3 separate regions of the Homo sapiens genome follow, and regions 2 and 3 are each linked to region 1. The links are contacts of gene promoters, found by promoter capture Hi-C in human tissues and cell types (Jung and others, 2019). All regions are on one chromosome and are shown on one strand. The core of a region is centred on a gene start or on the middle of the fragment in contact, and the rest is flanking DNA. Distances in the headings are between cores, read along the strand shown. Region 1 holds the start of TLE2 (TLE family member 2, transcriptional corepressor). Region 2 overlaps ZNF556 (zinc finger protein 556). Region 3 holds the start of CELF5 (CUGBP Elav-like family member 5).

The links. Contacts are between HindIII fragments. The study calls those that stand out against the background at their distance.
Region 2: a fragment that was not itself captured here is called in contact with the fragment with the promoter of TLE2 in region 1 in 2 of the 25 tissues and cell types used here (adrenal gland and dorsolateral prefrontal cortex).
Region 3: the fragment with the promoter of CELF5 here is called in contact with the fragment with the promoter of TLE2 in region 1 in 8 of the 25 tissues and cell types used here (IMR-90 fibroblasts, aorta, dorsolateral prefrontal cortex and 5 more).

What each region holds. Positions count from the first base shown.
Region 1 is chr19:3,027,977-3,031,929 of GRCh38, reverse strand. TLE2 (TLE family member 2, transcriptional corepressor) reads left to right here and starts at 2,650. Exons shown (of 20, transcript NM_003260.5): 1 at 2,650-3,049; 2 at 3,127-3,224; 3 at 3,548-3,611. The coding sequence starts at 3,026. The HindIII fragment of the contact is 30,131 bases long and covers 1-3,953 here.
Region 2 is chr19:2,880,768-2,885,082 of GRCh38, reverse strand. ZNF556 (zinc finger protein 556) reads right to left here. Exons shown (of 4, transcript NM_024967.3): 4 at 1,638-4,315. Among named protein-coding and RNA genes, the nearest start is that of ZNF556, 16 kb to the right of the region's middle. The HindIII fragment of the contact is 5,975 bases long and covers 1-4,315 here.
Region 3 is chr19:3,222,221-3,226,218 of GRCh38, reverse strand. CELF5 (CUGBP Elav-like family member 5) reads right to left here and starts at 1,558. Exons shown (of 13, transcript NM_021938.4): 1 at 1,221-1,558. The coding sequence starts at 1,479. RefSeq lists a silencer at 1,618-1,737. The HindIII fragment of the contact is 19,492 bases long and covers 1-3,998 here.

The DNA.
Region 1 (3,953 bases), core at 1,401-3,900:
AACAAACAAAAAGCCACACACTATGGTAGGAGCTGGGAAGAGAGGGAGAATAGGATGGAGAGTGTGAAAATAACGGGGTGGGCAGAAGCTGTTGAAATGGGTGGCTAGGAGGGGCCGTTCTGAGGAGGTAGCTTTTGAGCTGAGACTTGAATGATAAGAAGCAAGGGAAAAGCATTCCAGGTACAGGGAACAGAAAGTGCAATGGCCCTGAGGCTGGACTGTGCCTGGTGTGAGGCCAGTGTGACTTGGGCAGAGTGAGTGAGGGCGAAAATGACCGGAGTTGAGATCATGAAGCTGGCTGGCCGGGTGCAGTGGCTCATGCCTGTAATCTCAGTGCTTTGGGAGGCCGAGGTGGGAGGATCGATTGAGCCCAGGAATGCAAGACCAGCCTGGGCAACACAGTGAGACCTTGTCTCTATAAACAATAAACAAAACATAAAGAGATGGTGAAGGGGAAAAGGGGAAGAGTTTTGTGAAGAGCCTTGTGGGAAGAGAGATGAGTTTGGATTTATTTTGAGGGCAATAGGGAGCTAGTGAGTACTACACACACACACACACACACACACACACACACACACACACACACAATTGTATCTTTATCCCAGGCTGTGTCTCTTTTCCTCCCTTCCCAGAGCTGCCCAACCTCATCGTTCAGGTCTCATCTCCAAGGCTACCCTCCCCCAAGGGTCCTCTCCCAGACACCCCACATAAGCAGGTTTGCTTTTGTTCATCTCTATCACTGCCCTCTAAACTCTTCCTCTGTCTGTACAAATAGTCCCATAATTACCAAGCTGTGAACCTGCCTAGCCTGTCACTCACATCCCACAAACTCAGAGAGGGCAGGGATCTGTCTCCCTTATCCACCCTTACAATCCCTGTGCCTGGAAGGATGCCTGACACGTCATAGGTGCTCTGTAAATATCTGTGGGCTGGAAAACGATGGCTTTAAATTTGATAAGGGCTTTTTTTTTTTTTTTTTGAGACAAGGTCCTGCTCTGTCACCCAGGCTGGAGTGCAGTGATGTGATCTCAACTCAGTGCAGCCTTGACCTTCTGGGGCTCAGGTATCTCCCGCCTCAGCCCCCCAAGTAGCCGGGACCACAGGTGTGCATCACCATGCCTGGCTAATTATTTTTGTATTTTTTGTAGAGATACAAAAAACACAAAAATGTTTTTTTGTATTGTCGCGGTGTTGTCCACACTGGTCTTGAACTCCTGGGCTCAAGCGATCCTCCCTCCTCAGCTTCCCAAAGTGCTGGAGCTACAGGCATGACCCACCACCCCTGGCCCATTGATAAGGGCTCTTGTGCCCTTTTGTAAGGGTACAAAATGGGTTTTTGTAACCCTAACCCTTAGGTACCATTAGGTACTCGATCACCTAAGGACACAAGTCCAAGTGTCATCAAGGGGCATGGATTTTTCTCTGTTTTGTTCCCAGCTGTGCCCCAGTGTCTACAGCAGTGTGTGGTCCACAGTATGCATTTAGTACACGTTTGTTGATTGACTTCACAAACCTCTCCTGAGGTTTCTCCAAAGAGAATAAGAACTTCCCACTCCCCGGGTGGGCCTGAAGGATGCTGGCTGGATGTCTGTGGTCTCTGGTCGGGGCTGGAGCCTTTGCCGTGGGAGAGACTTGAGTCTGATGGCAGAGCTGTGGTTCTTCCAGTTCTGAGTGGGACACGGCTCCTGCCTTCAAGAAACCCAGTCTGAGAGGGGAGACAGCCCAGTCCACTGGTGATGGCAGTAGGAACACAATTCCCATCTGTGGAAGTTTGCTCTGTGTAGGGAGAGGCTGACAGCGTTCATGCACTATCTCATTTAAGTGCAGTGCCCAGTGCGGTGGCTCCCGCCCGTAATCCCAGCACTTTGGAAGGCCGAAGAGAGAGGCTTGAGTCCAGGAGTTCAAGACCAGCCTGGGCAACATAGTGAGACGCCCCCCTACTCCATCTCTGCAAAAAATTAAAAAATTAGCTGGGCGTGGTGGTGCACACCTGTAGTCCCAGCTACTGGAGAAGCTGAGGGGGAAGGATCGCTTGAGCCCAGGAGTTCGAGGCTGCAGTGAGCCATGATTGCCCCACTGTACTCCAGCCTGGGCAACACAGGGAGACCCTATCTCTGCAAAAAATTAAACCCTAAAGATAGCGCACCACCCCTGACCTTTTGCAGAGACTACTGAGGCCCCCAGAGGGCGAGGGCCCGGCATGATCTGGGAAGCAGTGTTTGCTGTGAGATTCCCTTTCTGGCAGGGTTCCCTGCCAGCGCTTGGCAAGGCTGCGTCCTGCTGACCCTTCAATCTCAACCCAATGTCACTTGCTCAGAAAAGCCATTTCCGACTCCAGACTGGTCCCCGCTCCCCGCAAGCCCCCCCCCCCGCTCCCACGGTGGGTAACACGGTGTGAATTTCTTCACTGGTTTTTCTTCTCCCGCCCCTCCGGGAGGGGGTGGGGACCCTGTTTTAAGGCACTGGGCGCCTCCCCACCCGGCCTCAGTTTCCCCAACGGCCCAGGGACTGAAGGAAGGGGGCGGGTGCCCGGGGGCCGGGGGGGGCGCGGGCGCGGGGAGGGGCGGTGCGCGGGGGTGGGCGCGGGGCGGGCCGCGGGCGCGTGGGGGCGGCGGCGCCACCTTAAGGCGGCTCAGCCCGCGGCTCCCGGCCGAGCCCCGCCGGAGGGAGGCGGCTCCGCGCGGGGCCCGCCGCCCGCGCCGCCGCCACCGAAACCCGGCCGCGGCGCGCCCGACCTTCTGCGCCGGCTGCCGCGGCCGCCCTCGCCGCGCTCCCGCCCCGGCCGCTGCCCCTGCCCGCCCCGCTCGCCCCGCGCACCCCAACCCGGGGAGGGGCTCCCACGACCCCGGGCGCGCGCGCTTGGGGGCGCGCCAGGGACTCCAGGGTCCCTTGCCCCGCGCCGCTTCTCCCTCCTCCCTCTTTCTTCGGGCAGCCTCCCCACCACCCCACTTCAGCCTCCCCCACTCTTGCCGCCTCCATATCATCAAGCTCTGGTGGCGCCTGGGGGGCTTTTCGGATCGGCAGGATGTACCCCCAGGGAAGGCACCCGGTGAGTGCGGACTGCGGGGAGGGGGCCCCCAGTGTCCGGGAACTCAGACCCTGACGTTTCCCCCACACCCCCCCCAGACCCCGCTCCAGTCCGGCCAGCCCTTCAAGTTCTCGATCTTGGAGATCTGCGACCGCATCAAAGAAGAATTCCAGTTTCTTCAGGCTCAATACCACAGGTGAGGGGGGCCGCCCCAGGGGCCGCGGGAGTTCACCTGGGCGCCGGGGCGGGGCGAGGCCTCCGGGGTATAGGGCGGGGAGGAGGGGCTCCCGGTTGGAGGGGGGGCGCGACAAAGGCCTCCAGGTGGAAGCGCAGGTGCAGAGGGGTCTGGGGACAGTCAGAGCTGGGGCATTTGGAGCCCAGGAAGGGGCGGGGAGGGACTGGGACAGGAGGTGGGGGGAGGTCTGTAAGGAAGTCGGGAGGGGGAGATCCAGCCTCTCACTTTGGAAGCCGGCCCACATGGGGCGGGTGGGAGCCCCTTGCCCTCTCTCTTCTTCTCAGCCTCAAGCTAGAATGTGAGAAGCTGGCCAGCGAGAAGACGGAAATGCAGCGACATTATGTCATGGTGAGGGCACTTATGATGCCAGGGTGAGGGGAGAGGCGGGCAGGGCTTTGAGTCACGGTGGACTCTGGGGTAGGTCCCTGCCCCACTCCGAACCTCGTCTTCCCCGTCTGTACATTGGGCAGGTTGGGATTTCAGGCTCTCTAGGAGGGTCCTCCCAGCTCTGGGAATGGGGAGACAGGGAGGACCCCTCGCCTGATGGGAGTCTCTGTCGGGCCAGGGCCTCTGGACACTTCCTACCTGCCCTGCCTCTCTGGGGAGAGTAGAGGGGGCCCTTCCAGGCAGAGCCCCCGCTTCCTCCTCTGGGACCCCGTGGAGCTGGGGGGGGCTCTGCTTCCTGCTGTG
Region 2 (4,315 bases), core at 1,736-4,235, 150 kb after region 1:
GCTGGGTTTTCACAAATGCATACTTGTACCACCATAATCAAGATACAAAACACTCTGTCACCCCTAAAAGCCTCCTTCTGCCCTTTTGGAGACAAACTGTCCTGTGACCCTTAATGCCTCATCTGGTTCTAAATTCCTATACTCTTGCTCTATCCAGAATGTCATATAAATGGATGCTTTTGAATACTCTGGTTAAAAACTAACGCTGGCCGGGCACGGTGGCTCACGCCTGTAATCCCAACATTTTCGGAGGCCGAGGTGGGTGGATCACCTGAGGTCAGGAGTTCGAGACCAGCCTGGCCTACATGGTGAAACCCTGTCTGTACTAAAAATACAAAATTAGCTGGGTGTGGTGGCATGCGCCTGTAACCCCAGCTACTTGGGAGGCTGAGGCAGGAGAATCACTTGAACCTGGGAGTTGGAGGTTGCAGTGAGCTGAGATCACGCCATTGCACCCCAGCCTGGGCAACAAGAGCAAAACTCCATCTCAAAACAAACAAACAACAACAACAACAAAACACCTAATGCCATACTTGGCAAACTGTGTAATTTTATTTTTTATCCAGAAGAAGATGACTTGTCTTGAAATATAAAAATTCGAACAGTGCCCAATACAGGTGGTAAGACACATCAGGCTTTCACTATGGAGACATTCCATTACTATTTTGGGATATGTAAGGTTAACCATGAGTCTGCTGCTTGTGATTAACTTGTCATTTTGAGGCAGGAGAATAGGGAATTAGGATAACCAGTTAAGGCATAAGCAAAGGAACAGCAGGTGCAGCCACTTCTAGGCAAGATTAGGCAGAAACAGGCCACATCCTCACTGCTGTGATAACAAGATAGAAGTCTCCACTTCAGACTCTGATTTGACAGGGCCAAGTCTCCACCTCAGCCTCTGATTGGCCATGGCCAAGTCTTCACTTCAGCCTCTGATTGGTTGCAGGCGAATCCTTCATAGGGGGTAACCAATTGGAGTTCTCTAAAGGGCACCTAGGGGTGTTACAAAATTCTTGTAGCCTTATAAAAACCCTAAAGAACATTGCAATCAGGGCTCTTGAGCTGCCCGCTAGGGCCGGCTCCCGCTCCGTGGAGTGTACTTTCATTTAAATAAATCTGCGCTGTCATTGCTTTGTGTGTTTTGTTCAATTCTTTGTTCAATGCGTCAAGAACCTGGACATCTCACAGTCAGCACTTTCCATCTGGTACCAATTTGTACAATGAGAGGAATGTAGGGAAGGAGTGATCAAATAAGCTAACTGTGATTGTGAAATGACACGAAGTCTTTGCAGTGCTATCAAGACTATTTTTTTTTTGAGGTGGAGTTTCGCTTTTGTTGCCCAGGCTGGAGTGCAGTGACGCCATCTCGGCTCGCTGCAACCTCCGCCTCCCGGGTTCAAGCAATTCTCCTGCCTCAACCTCCCAAGTAGCTGGGATTACAGGCACGCACCACCATGCCCAGCTAATTTTTGTATTTTTAGTAGAGACAGCGTTTCTCCATGTTGGTCAGGCTGGTCTCGAACTCCCGACCTCCGGTGATCTGCCCACCTCAGCCTCCCAAAGTGCTGGGATTACAGGCGTGAGCCACTGCGCCCGGCCCGCTATCAAGACTATTAACATTGAAAATGGACACAGACTGGATTTCATTTGCCTTTAATTAAACACAAAGCTGTTACATATTTTTCTCTTCTAATAGCTGCTGGAAGTCTAAGCATATGGAAACGATACCTATGAAAATCAAATGGACATTTTGGGCTTTGTGGATCATTAAAGGTTTACACTTAAAAATTATTTTTTAATTAAAAAAATAAAAATTAATTAAAGGATGACAAATACATTGGGATGTTACTCAAAATGATAATCCTGTCTGCAGCTCACTTCAGTTATTCCTTGACTAGTTCTCTCACCGTCCATAGATTTTATCCTCACCAGGAAATCATGGCACACTTGCCTAGATATCACTGTGCACATGGGAAAACACTCGCAACGGGCTACAACTGTGCAGATGACCATAACTCTTCCTCACCCTGTGAGGAACTCTAGTTTTCTGCAGAACACAATTTTTCCATCAGTGTGTAGGGGCAGCAAAGTGACAATGCCAAATATATAAGGCAATTTAAAATTATTTCACAAAGGTATTAAAAACAAACACCCACATTGTGGTTCAAATCCAGATGAAGTACCTGGTCCCAGATGCCAATGTCCAAACTCATAAAAACATATGACATGGGCCTGGTGCGGTGGCTCACGCCTGTAATCCCAGCTCTGCGGGAGGCCAAGGCGGGCAGATCACGAGGTGAAGAGATCGAGACCATCCTGGCCAACAAGGTGAAACCCCACCTGTACTAAAAATACAAAAAATTAGCTGGGCGTGGCGGGGCACGCCTGTATTCCCAGCCACTTGGGAGGGTGAGGCAGGAGAATCGCTTGAACCTGGGAGGTGGAGGTTGCAGTGAGCTGAGATCGCACCACTGCACTCCAGCCTGGCAACAGAGCAAAACTCCGTCACACACATTCACACACACACACACACACACACACACACACACACTATATATATATATATATAAAATGTATACATCATGCCCTAAAATTTTTAATATTTGCAGAAATGAGGCTGAACCATAAATATACCTTTTGTCTCTTTTTTTTTTTGAGACAGAGTCCCACTCAGTCGCCCAGGCTGGAGTGTAGTGGTTCGATCTCTGCTCACTGCAAGTTCCGCCTCCTGGGTTCACGCCATTCTCCTGCCTCAGCCTCCCGAGTAGCTGGGACTACAGGCACCTGCCACCACGCCCAGCTAATTTTTTGTATTTTTTACTAGAGACAGGGTTTCACCGGGTTAGCCAGGATGGTCTTGATCTCCTGACCTCGTGATCCACCCGCCTCAGCCTCCCAAAGTGCTGGGATTACAGGCGTGAGCCACCGCGCCCGGCCAGGGAAATAATTATTGTTTCTTTTTTTCTTTTTAATTTGACACACGGTCTCATTCTGTCACCCTGGCTGGAGTACAGTGGCAAGATAACTCATTGCAGCCTGGACCTCTTGGTCTCAAGCCATCCTCCACCCTCAGCCTCCTGAGTAGCTGGCTCTACAAGTGCACATCACCATGCCTAGATACTTTTAAAAATTTCTTTTTATAGAGACTGTGTCTCACTATGTGCCCAGACTGGCCTTGAACTCCTGTGCTCAAGTGATCCTCCTGCCTCAGCCTCCCGAAGCTTTGGAATTACAAGTGTGAGCCACTGCCCCTGGTCCTGCCGTTATTTCTGTATTACTGCTCACTATTTCCTAACTCATGAGCAGTTCTTGAAATAGTATTAAAAAAAAAGAAATAGTATTTAAGACATATTACATGGTGGAACTATAAATGAATTCATGATGAGATTGTCACTTACTGAAGCCCGATCCTTTATTCTGCATTCCCTATTATCTACCTTGTCAAGTTTGATACTATACTTTATTCTGCCTTGATATTATCCAAAAAAAAAATTTTTTTTTTTTTGAGATGGAGTCTTACTCTTGTCGCCCAGGCTGGAGTGCAGTGGCGCAATCTTGGCTCACTGCAACCTCTGCCTCCCGGGTTCAAGCGATTCTCCTGCCTCAGCCTCCCAAGTAGCTGGGATTACAGGCGCCTGCCACCACGCCTGGCCAATTTTTTGTATTTTTAGTAGAGACAAGGTTTCACCATGTTCACCATGTTGGCCAGCGTGGTCTCGAACTCCTCACATCAGGTGATCCACCCGCCTCGGTGGGTCCTGGGATTACAGGCGTGAGCCATTGCTACTGGGCTCCAATAAAGTTTAAACTTGTTTTATTAGTTATCTTTTTATGTCTTTTGCTAGACTTATTTAATACTTAAATTTATAAAACCGTTACGTAAGTTTTTGTCATTATGAATAAACAAGAATTTATTAGGCTGGGCGCGGTGGCTCACGCCTGTAACCCCAGCACTTTGGGAGGCCGAGGTGGGCAGATCACAAGGTCAGGAGATCGAGACCAGCCTGGCCAGCATAGTGAAACCCCGTCTCTACTAAAAATACAAAAATTAGCCGGGTGTGGTGGCGGGTGCCTGTAATCCCAGCTCTTCAGGAGGCTGAGGTAGGAGAATCACTTGAACCTTGGCGGGGGGGTTGCAGTGAGCCAAGATCACGGCACTGCACTCCAGCCTGGGTAACAGAGCGAGAATCTGTCTCAAAAAAAAAAAAAAGAATTTCTTAGACAAAATTATAACAGTATAGGAAACAAATGTACTAGAAAGAAAATGTCTAAATCTGAATGCATCTGGTAATATTAATTCAGAAGTATAATTCTT
Region 3 (3,998 bases), core at 309-2,808, 200 kb before region 1:
TGGGGAAAAAGTGGGTGTAAAATAGGTCATGGGCCCCGGTCCTTCCCCAAGGCCTCTCCAGGGTCTTCCTGGAGGATGGGAGGGGGAGGGCCGGGGGTGTCCAGCACAAGGCCTTTGAAGTGGCACCCCCAGTCCCCAACACCTGACCGGAAGGCTGTCAAAGCCACCCCAATTCAGACGCTGGGCCCATGATGGGAACCAAGGGCTGGGGATACAATTGCCGGACACCCCCACCCGGGATGCCATCGGAGGGAGAATCCAGTGGGAGGGAGGCAGACAGGCCTGAGGCCGCCCACGCCTCCCTCCTCCTCCCTGTCCACCCCAGAATTTGGGCTCTGCCCAGATGGACACGTCCAAGCTCATTGTCTTGGGCCTGAGACCCCAACACATTGCTAAGAGGCTCGGCCAGTTTCAACTTGAGCCCAAGGTGGAGGCGGGGGAGGGGGAGGGCAGAGAAATGGAGGAGAGAATGCTGATCCACGCGGAGGTGGTGGGGCCAGGGGGTGGGCAGCGACGGGAGCCTCTCCGCCACCCGAGGCAGGCGAGGCGGGCGCGTCCCCCCGAGCCGGGCGCCCCCAACCCGTCTTCCTTTGTAGTTACCGATTAGCCTGGGGTCCTGGGCATCCGTGTCCCCCGCGGCCGGACCTGCCCCGCCGGCCTGGCTTTGTGAAAATAACCAAAGCAATGGAGTCCGCAGGTGCAAACTTCCCCGACGGGGCCTGGGGAGGCTGAATGAATGGGGGTGGGGGGGCAGGGAGGGGTGCCGGCGTTCCCGAGGCTCCCCTGGCAAACGGGCAGGAAAGAGTGGGGTGAGGGAGGGAGGAAGGGGTGGGGGTCTGGGGGATGGAAGGGTGAGGGAGGGAGGGAGGGAGAGAGAGGGTGCTGTGGGGGGAAGGATGAGAGGTCGAGGGAGATGGGAGAGAAGAGAAAGGGAGAGAGAGAGGGAGAGAGAGAGGGAGAGAGAGAGGAGATGCCGGAAGGTGGGGAGGGAGGGAGAGGGGGCGGAGGAGGGGAGGGGGCCCGCTCGGATCTGTCAGCTGCACCCCCAGAGAGGGGAGGAGGGGTGGGTGGGAGGGAGGGGGTAAGAACCGATGCTCCGGCAGAGGCAGGCAGAGGAGGGAGGTGAGCAGAGGAGGGATGGTGATGGGGGAGAGAAGATGCCGGAAGGTGGGGTGGGAGGCGGAGGGAGGGGGAGAGGGGGGAGGGGGCCGGGCGCCCACCTTTGTGCATCCCCGTGTAGGGGTCTTTGAGCACCGTGAGCTCGTAGATGCGGCCGAACTGCTCGAAGAGCGGCTTGAGGTCCTTCTCGTCCAGGTGCCGCGGGATCTGGCCCACGAAGAGTTTGATGGCGTCCAGGTCCTTCATGCCGTCGGGCTGCCCCCCGGGGGGCTCGGGCCCGCTGCTGCCCACGGGCGAGGGCCGCGGCTGCAGGAGCTGCTGCTGCTGCCGGCGCGCCTCGCTCTCCGTCAGGCGGGCCATGGCGGGCGCGGGACCGAGCCGGCGGCGGCGGCGGCGGGCGGCGGGCGGACTCGCAGCTGGAGCGGCGGCCGCGCCTCCCGCCTCCCTCCCGGGCCCCCGCGCCCTCCTCCCGCCCGCGCCCGCCCCGGCATCGGGACCACAAAGGCGGCTCCGCAGCGGCCCCTGGCGGCCGCGCCGCGCGGGGCAGCCGGCGCCTCCCCGCATCCCCGGGCCGCGGGGGGAAACTGAGGCCGGAAGGCCCCGGGCCCCGCCTACGGGTGGGCGAGGGCGGAGCTGCGGGCGGGACGGGCCTTAGCCGGCTTCCCAGGGGTCCCCGCCGGCTCCCGCGGAGGGCATCGGCCGGAAGAATGTCAAAAGTTGCTGGGATAATGTAGGGGGCTTGTCGTTGAAAGCGCCCGTGATCCTTAAAGTAGGTAACTCATCAATAATATTAATAACACTAATAATATGGCTGGGCGCGGTGGCTCACGCCTGTCATCTCAGCACTTTGGGAGGCCGAGGTGGGTGGATCACTTGAGGTCAGGAGTTCGAGACCAGACTGGCTAACACGGTGAAACCCCGTCTCTACTAAAGAATACAAAAATTAGCTGGGCTCGGTGGCGGGGGGTGCCTGTAATCCCAGCTACTCGGGAGGCTGAGGCAGGATAATCACTTGAACCCAGGAGGCGGAGGTTGCAGTGAGCCAAGATTGTGCCATTGTACTCCAGCCTGGGCAACAAGAGCAAAACTCCGTCTTGGTAAAAAAAAAAAAAAAAAACACCTAATAATAACAACACTAATAATAATTAATCAAGAGCAAGACAAAGTGCTCCCACTAATCACGACAGCACAGGAGAAATGGTAAAAGTATCTTCCAGTTCTATAGGGTGCTTACACATAGAAAGTGTCCTTGGCCCTTTAAGTATGTAACTCATCAATAATGTCATCAACAAGGAGGGAGACTGGCTCGCACTGATAATGACAGGATAGGAGAAATACTGAAGTATCTCCCAGCTCTAAAGTGCCCGTGATCCTTTACGTATGAAACTCATCAATAATATTAATAAAAATAATAATACGTGCTGGCCGTGGTGGCTCACACCTGTAATCCCAGCACTTTGAGAAGCAGAGTCAGGAGGACCACTTGAGCCCAGGAGTTGGAGACCAGCCTGAGCAACATAGTGAGACGCCATTGCTGTAAAAAATAAGAAAACAGGCCAGGCACGATGGCTCACACCTGTAATCCCAGCACTTTGGGAGGCTGAGGCAGGTGGATCACCTGAGATCAGGAGTTCGAGACCAGCCTGATCAACATGGAGAAAACTCTGTCTCTACTAAAAACACAAAAATTAGCCAGGCATGGTTGTGCATGCCTGTAATCCCAGCTACTCAGGAGGCTGAGGCAGGAAAATCGCTTGAACCCGGGAGGCGGAGATTGCAGTGAGCCGAGATTGCGCCATTGCACTCCAGCCTGGGCAACAAGAGTGAAACTCTGTTTGAGAAAAAAAAAAAAAAAAATCAGCCAGGAGTGGTTGGTGTGCACCGTTGGTCCCAGCTACTCGGAGGCTGCGGTGGGAGCATCGGTTGATCCCTGGGATATTAAAGCTGCAGTGAACCAGGATCGCACCACTGCCTCTGGTCTAGGCGACAGAATGAAATCTTGTCTCAAAAAAAAAAAAAAAAAAAACACTTCCCAAAGATGTCCCATAATTAAAGCCCAAGTCCTTCTTGAGGCCCACAAGGCTCTGCGTGTCCTGTTCTGCCTTGTCCCCACCTTCCCCTGCTCCCTCTCTCCCCCTCCTCACTGCTGCAGCTACACAGGCCTCCTCGCTGTTCCTCTCACTTGTCAGGTGCGGTCCTGCCTCAGGGCCTTTGCACGGGCTGTACCCTTTGTCTGGGATGTGCTCTCCCCAGATGATGTGTGGCTCATTCCTTAATTCCCCATCACTTTCCCCATCTACCTTATCTAAAACCGCTCAGTCACCATTATCTCCTTTCTCAGCCTTCTTTTTCCCTCCACAGAGTTACACCCATTTAAAATTTTATTTTCATTTTTATTTTTATTTTTTTCGAGATGGAGTCTCTCTCTGTCGCCCAGGCTGAAGTGCAATGGTGTGATCTTGGCTTACTGCAACCTCCACCTACCAGGTTCAAATGATTCTCCTGCCTCAGCCACCTGAGTAGCTGGGATTACAGTTGCACCCCACCACACCCAAATAGTGTAAAATTTTATTAACGTACTTATTTATTTATTTATTTATTATTGAGACAGAGTCTCGCTGTGTCACCCAGGCTGGAGTGCAGTGGCATTATCTCGGCTCACTGCAACCTCTGCCTCCCGGGTTCAAGCAATTCTCCTGTCTCAGTCTCCAGTGTAGCTGGGATTACAGGCATGTGCCACCACACCTGGCTAATTTTTGTATTTTTAGTAGAGATGGGTTTCACCATGTTGGCCAGGCTGGTGTCGAACTCCTGACCTTAGGTGATCTGCCCACCTCAGCCTCCCAAAGTGCTGGGATTACAGGCATGAGCTACTGCGC